Linked DNA regions of Homo sapiens: region 1 is linked to region 2. Evidence: promoter capture Hi-C in 16 types of primary human blood cells and fetal thymus (Javierre and others, 2016). All regions are on one chromosome and are shown on one strand. The core of a region is centred on a gene start or on the middle of the fragment in contact, and the rest is flanking DNA. Distances in the headings are between cores, read along the strand shown. Region 1 overlaps IKBKB (inhibitor of nuclear factor kappa B kinase subunit beta). Region 2 holds the start of VDAC3 (voltage dependent anion channel 3).

Region 1 (3,196 bases), core at 404-2,903, 90 kb before region 2:
CATCCCTCTAAACTTGTGATAGATAGAGATTCATGGACCCACCCTTATAAAACTGCTTTCTTCTCGGAAGTCTTGCTGCTCTTATCTGTTCCCCAGTTTGTGGTTTGTCATCTGAAAAAAATACATAGGGCTGTGGGGCTGTGATTCGGAGCTGTGATTCATCAATAAGACCCACAGGATTGTCAGCGTTCTTCAGTTATGTGTTTGTGCCTTCCTCATGAGCCAGGGAAAGGCTGGGGTTACCACCGGGGCACGGCTTCTGAGGAGGGTGAGAGAAGGAGGCTGTTATCTTCCTATGGCAAGTCTGCCATGTGGACCCATTCTGTGGAAATGTACTGTGTCATTTATCTTAGTTTTTGTGTTTTTCCTGCATACACTGCACTGTGTCGTTTATTTTAGTTTTTGCATTTTTCTAGAGGCAGGGTCTTGCTCTGTTGTCCGGGCTAGAGTGCAGTGGCACGATCATGTTTCACCGCAGCCTTGAATTCCTGGGCTCAAGTGATCCTCTCACCTCAGTCTCCCACGTAGCTGGGATGAAGGCATGCGCCACCATGCCTGGCTAATTAAAATTTTTTTTTTTGTAGAGACAGGGTCTTGCTATATTGCCCAGGCTGGTCTCAAACTCTTGGCCTCAAGGGATCCTCCTCCCTCGGCCTCCGAAAGTGCTGGGATTACAGGTGTGAGCCACCATGCCTGGCCTCACTGTGTAGTTGTGAATAGCTTAATAGTTTGCAATGTGGTGCTTCTCACAGCTCTTCTCTGTAATGGGAACATGAAAAATTACCTGGTACAGTTTTATGCTTTGTGGTGTGGCTTTTAATTTTTATAAACATGTCTTACTGCTATTGCCAGGGATTTAGATTTTTAATAAACTTCCAGATTCAACAGTATTTTTCTTCATCTCAATGTCTCATTTTTCATCAAATTTAAACAAAGTTAGATTCTCTGGGCTTGAAACAATTTTGATTCATTTCACTTTAGCTCTGAAGTACTGTTTTGTAAAATGTAGCACAGTGATACTGAACCAAGCTTTTTGAAAGCTTATTCTCTGCAGGGTACATTTAAGAGGACTTGCCTATCAGAATTTTTACATTTCAGTCCCAGAAACTATGTGTAACAATACCTGTTGGATTCTTTAAATCTGGACTTTATTAAGTTGACAGAGGTATTGAAGAATAGATGACCACCCCGAAATGAGGAATAAAGTTTGTTTTGTACAGTTGTTTAAGCATAAAAATAGACAGATATTAATAGTAGTCAGAGTATTCAGTTACCAACCTCTTGTCCCTCCTCACTGAAGATCTGGTGACAACTCTAATCCACGTGGCGTAGAGAGCGGTGCCTTTGGTCTAATCCGAATGCTCCTCCTCTTCACTGGGGGGTTCTGGGGACATCTCACCTGGTTGTGCCCTGGGTTTTGCCCTGAGATGTTAGCCTCCAGCTCTGGGGGCCTTGTCTCAGTCTGGGCATGTGTACTTGCTCAAATTACAGTATCTCAACTTCCATATATTCTGCTTTGGAAAAAACTAACCTACACTTTTATGTATTACATCCTGATACTCTCCAGCAGTCTGTCATATACCAAAACAGGTCTTTTGTGAACCTATCAGTTAACAGACACTTTGAGTTATTGCATGGCCTTGCTCTCTGCCAGCCAGTAGTTCATATTCAACAGCAGTGCCATCCCTGTCTGCAAGGCTGTGTTAGTGCAGCTATTTTTTATACTTCATTTAATTTATTATGCTTTTTCATTTGCTTTGATTTTTAATAAAAGTAAAACAAAAATAAAAGTGCTGATGAGAAGCATTGGTCTTGAAACATTAACACAATTGAGAACAAGATGAAATATAATTTTTTAGGCACATGGAAAGCAGCGAGTCTTTCACCTCATCTGGACATTAATTGGACCTAAGCTGATCTACTCTGTCACTTAGGAAGGAAATGAAAAGTAAGGAACAGTATGATATGTTGGAACCACATGGTCGAAGGCTGGACTTAAAAGAGCAGATGCAAGGAGAGATCTGGCACCACAGATAGAGCATCCCTAATCCCAAAGTCCAAAATCTAAAGGGCTGTAAAATCTGAAGGTTTTTGTACACTGACATGATGCCAGAAGTGGAAAATTCCACACTTAAGTACTTAACACATTGTTCCATGCACAAAATTATTAAGACTATTGTATAAAATTACCATCAGACTATAAAATCATTTATAAAAATTCAGTTGTTTCATATAAGGTATATATGAAACAAATGAATTTTGTGTTTAAGCTTGGGTTCATTAGGAATATGCCAGTATTCCAAAATCCAAAAAAAAAAAAACTGATCCCAAGCATTTTGGATAAGAGATACTCATCATGTATAGCTTAATGTTCTGAGCTGGAACTCCTTTAATAAGGTGGAAGTCAGTTGTTCAGCTCTCAGTTTGACTCTTAAATATGTTTTCAGCAAATGTTCAGCTTAGAGTCTTTGCAGAGAATGTTTGCTTACTCAGTTTCTGTGGAAGGCTTTTCCGTTACCCTGCACAGAGGGCCGTACCCATGACAGCAGATAGGATCGCTGCCTGGGCCTCAGGGGTCTTCCCCTCCCCGGCTTGCCGAGAGGGAGAGAGAGAGAGAGAGAGAGAGAGAGAGAATGAGAGAGAGAGAGAGAGAGAGAGAGAATGAGAGAGAGAGAGAGAGGAGAGAGAATGAGAGAGAGAATGAGAGAGAAACAGAGAGAATGAGAATGGTGGTGGCGGCGACGGCATACAGAGGGTTCATTGTTAAACCTCTGAATGTTACTGCTTTTGACTTTTTAAGTTTTAAACAAGAAACAGGTCATACCATTAACTATCCCTCTGAGTCAGAAAATATAGACCCAAGAGTTGCCTGTTCTAATGTGGCACTACCATAATTTGTTCTAACATTTCCTAATGACTGTCTGTTTCTAATTATTTCATTCAAGATATGCAGTAAGTATCCTTGGGCTACCAGTGAAGTGATACCATTTGTATCTCTTCTTCTGTGCTTTCTCACCACTTGACATTCTTTGCCCATTTTTCTTTTTCTTTTTCTTTTTTTTTTTAGGTAGAGTCTTACTCTGTCACCCAGGTTGGAGTGCAGTGGCCATGATCTCGGCTCACTGCAACCTCTGCCTCCTGGGTTCAAGCAATTCTCCTGCCTCAGCCTCCCGAGTAGCTGGGATTACAGGGGCAT
Region 2 (3,198 bases), core at 56-2,555:
GGATGGTCTCGATCTCCTGACCTCATGATCCGCCCGCCTCTGCCTCCCAAAGTGCTGGGATTACAGGCTGCTTCCTTTAACCTAGAGCAGTTCACTAGCCTTTTTCCTAATCTTTCATGAAACTGACATTTTTGAAGACTGGGCAGTTGTCTTGCAGGTCTCTCAGTTTGGATTTGCCTGATTGTTTCGTCCTGAAGAGAGGCAAATTACACACTTTTACAAGAATATTATCTCTGTGTCCCTCTCTGTGCCTCACACCAGGGGCATATGTCAGTCCCTACCATCCCCCGTTTGATCAGTCTCTTTGATGTGAAGGTACCCTTTTCTCTTTAGTGAGTAATCTATGGGGGTGATACTTTGAAACCATATGAACATCCTCAACGGTCCACTGATCATTTCAGCCTGAATCAATTATTATCATGGTGGTTCCAAGACGATGATTTTCTATTTCTGTCATCTATTCTACCTTTATTAGTTGGTCTTCTCCTCTACAGAAGAGCTTTTTCTCCTCCACATCCTCTGCCCCTTTGAATTATCATCTCTCACTACTTGTGGGATCTTGAATCAATCACTTACTCCCTGGGGACCTGTGTATTCTCATCCTTAAGACGAGATGACCTAAGAGTGACACTCTTGAAGTCTGGTCAGTCTGAAATGAAATTCCCATAAGAGGCTGGGCGTGGGCTCAGGCCTGTGATCCCAGCACTCTGGTAGGCGCAGGCGGGCGGATCACTTATGCCGTGGAGTTCGAGACCAGCCTGGAAACATAGGGAGATTCCCGTCTTTACCAAAAAAAAAAAAAAAAAAAAATTAAATTAGCCGGGCGTGGTGGCGCGCTTCTGTGGACCCTCCTACTCAGGAGGCTTAGGCAGGAGGACGGCTTGAGCCCAGGAGGTCGAGGCTCCAGTGAGCCAAGATCGCGCCACTACACTCCGGCCTGCGGCATGCCTCAAACCTGGGGTCCGGCACCCTGCGGCCTTTTCGCGGCCGCACCCATGGCAACAGTTAACTAGCAACCTCGCGCATTCTCGCGAGAATGAGTCCCCTCAAGGGCACAGGTGCGGTCCCCAGCCTCTTGGGCCCCCAGTCAACCTCACTGTCCACACCGAGCCCTCCTGCGCACGCGCGCTGCGGAGCCGGACAGTTGGTGGTGCTGGCTTGGCCCGGCTGTTCGTCTCCGCGCCTTGCTCCGAAGCGCGCGACCGTGGCGCGACACGCCGGCGCACAGGCGCTCTCGGGGAGGGGCGGCGCGCAGGCGCGGCTGGGGGTGCGAGGCTGCGCAGGCGCGGACGGCGTTGGTTTGAAGACCTTCAGCGTTGCCCTGGCGGAGCAGAGACAGGCCCTCGGGGTGGAGGTGAGGAGAGCTGAGGCCGCGCGGGCTCCAGTCCCGGAGAGCGGTGGGCCGCGGCCGAGCAGAGCGCCAGGCGGGAGGCGGGCCTAACGGAGGCTCTGTGGGCAGGGAGCAGGCTACCGGGGCGCGGGGGGCCGGGGCCGCTCGCTCCCGCCGGGACCCGCCCGGGCCACCTCAGGCGATGGAGCCGCAGCACGGCGGGGCAAGTGGCCTCCGGGCGCGGGCAGCGACCTATCCCGCCGGCGTGTGGACCGCACTTTCCTCCCAGGGGTCAGCTAGAAAGGAGATCGGTTCTAGGGAAGTTGGATCCTCGAACCCCACACCCATCTCCCGCCCGCCCCTGCCCCCTCCTTACGGCCGAGGGAGGGTGCCCTGCGTGCAATTCAAAACGGAGAAGCGAGGAACGAAAAGGGCTCTGTACTGGCTGTCAAGTTAGTGGCTTTGTAAAGCAGTAGCAACCGGCTTAACGCCTTTCCCCGTCTGCGTCTCCTGCAGCCTCTGTGCAGTGTGCACATCTATGGGCAGGTGCATTCTGTAGAGCTGGTGGAGACGTGTGGTTGTAGCTTTACTCTCGAGGAACATGAAGTTTCTGTTGTTCTCGATTTTTGCTTGATCATACTAGCAGTGCATTTCCCATCAGAGTCATAGGCCTGAAAAAGTCAGCTTGAACTAGGCAGAATTGAGGTCAGTTAGTATACTAAACCAGCTACGTGACTTTTGCATAGTATCTCGTACTGGTTTTGAAAAATAACAAAACAAAATGCTGAAATATTGTAAATAGTCCCTAGACGTATATATAGTGCTTCTAAACATTTAAGTGTATCTTTTCTCGGCAGTATGAAAAACCAGACTGTAAAGCTTTAACATTTCTATTTCAATATATACTGCCTGCATTTCTATACTTACTTCCCAAATTACAGACTTCTGGCAAAATTTCAACAAATATCAACATCAGTTGTAATCATAAAGAGTAATATCAAATTGCAATTGGGATAATATAAAAAGCCTAGAATTGATCACTTTAGTACAAGGGATTGAATTGTAAAATAATCGTTCTGTAAGTGAATTATGAAACCTGGTAGCTTAGAGCAAAGTTTTACTATGGAATGAGTCAGTACATTTATACTACCGTTTCCTCTTTAATTTTTTTTTCTTTTTAGTTTTTTATACTAGTCTCTTTATATCATAGTGTCTGTCATATTTGACAGGTTTATGTTAAGGAACAAAACTTAAATGCATTCCCATTTAAGTGCATCATATGTATATGTTTGGTATGATGGGGTAGGCAGAAGCTTAGCAGAAGTCTGGATTAAGAGCTGGGCTATATATAAATAAATATGAGCTTAAATGTGTAGATCATTCAGGCGTAGCAATTGCAAGGGCTAGCTGGTACTCTGGATTTTTCTGACATATGGGCTAATGGCACTGCTAGAGGTGGCTCTGTAATTGGTTAGACATAGCTTTTGAGTCTGCGAGAGGAATACAGAAGAACCTGCTGCAGAAAGATTTCCCATGATACAAAGAGGGCAAAGGAATGAGATAATCAGCAGTGTTGATAGCTCTGAGAATTTGATATGAGGGTCATATTACCAGTAGCAAAGCTGGGCAGATTTTTAGTAGGCAAGATGAAAAATCAAGGCACCTGAGGTTTTTGAAGGCTTTAACTTCAGAGTTTACACTAACTTTTGGTAAGCAGGTTGCTGCAGGTAGAATCTGTCATATTTCTGGTTAATGGGTAAAATTATAGCACTTTAAGAAGAGCTTTGAGAGAAGATATATTCTAGATGAATACACTTCAATTCGTATGGTAAATTCTTATTTTAAGAACTGAATTTCAGAGGAGAAAA

The links. Contacts are between HindIII fragments. The CHiCAGO score rates a contact against its expected background, and 5 or more counts as called.
Region 1: a fragment that was not itself captured here is called in contact with the fragment with the promoter of VDAC3 in region 2 in 1 of 17 cell types (megakaryocytes); the score reaches 5.3 in megakaryocytes.

What each region holds. Positions count from the first base shown.
Region 1 is chr8:42,300,458-42,303,653 of GRCh38, forward strand. All of the region lies in intron 5 of IKBKB (inhibitor of nuclear factor kappa B kinase subunit beta), which reads left to right. LOC105379395 (a long non-coding RNA gene) reads left to right here. Exons shown (of 2, transcript XR_949714.3): 2 at 1-890. Among named protein-coding and RNA genes, the nearest start is that of IKBKB, 31 kb to the left of the region's middle. The HindIII fragment of the contact is 1,230 bases long and covers 1,039-2,268 here.
Region 2 is chr8:42,390,575-42,393,772 of GRCh38, forward strand. It overlaps VDAC3 (voltage dependent anion channel 3), which reads left to right and starts at 1,306. Exons shown (of 10, transcript NM_005662.7): 1 at 1,306-1,354. It also overlaps a transcript of DKK4 not described here. RefSeq lists enhancers at 810-1,310, 1,311-1,811 and a silencer at 1,053-1,582. The HindIII fragment of the contact is 9,991 bases long and covers 1-2,207 here.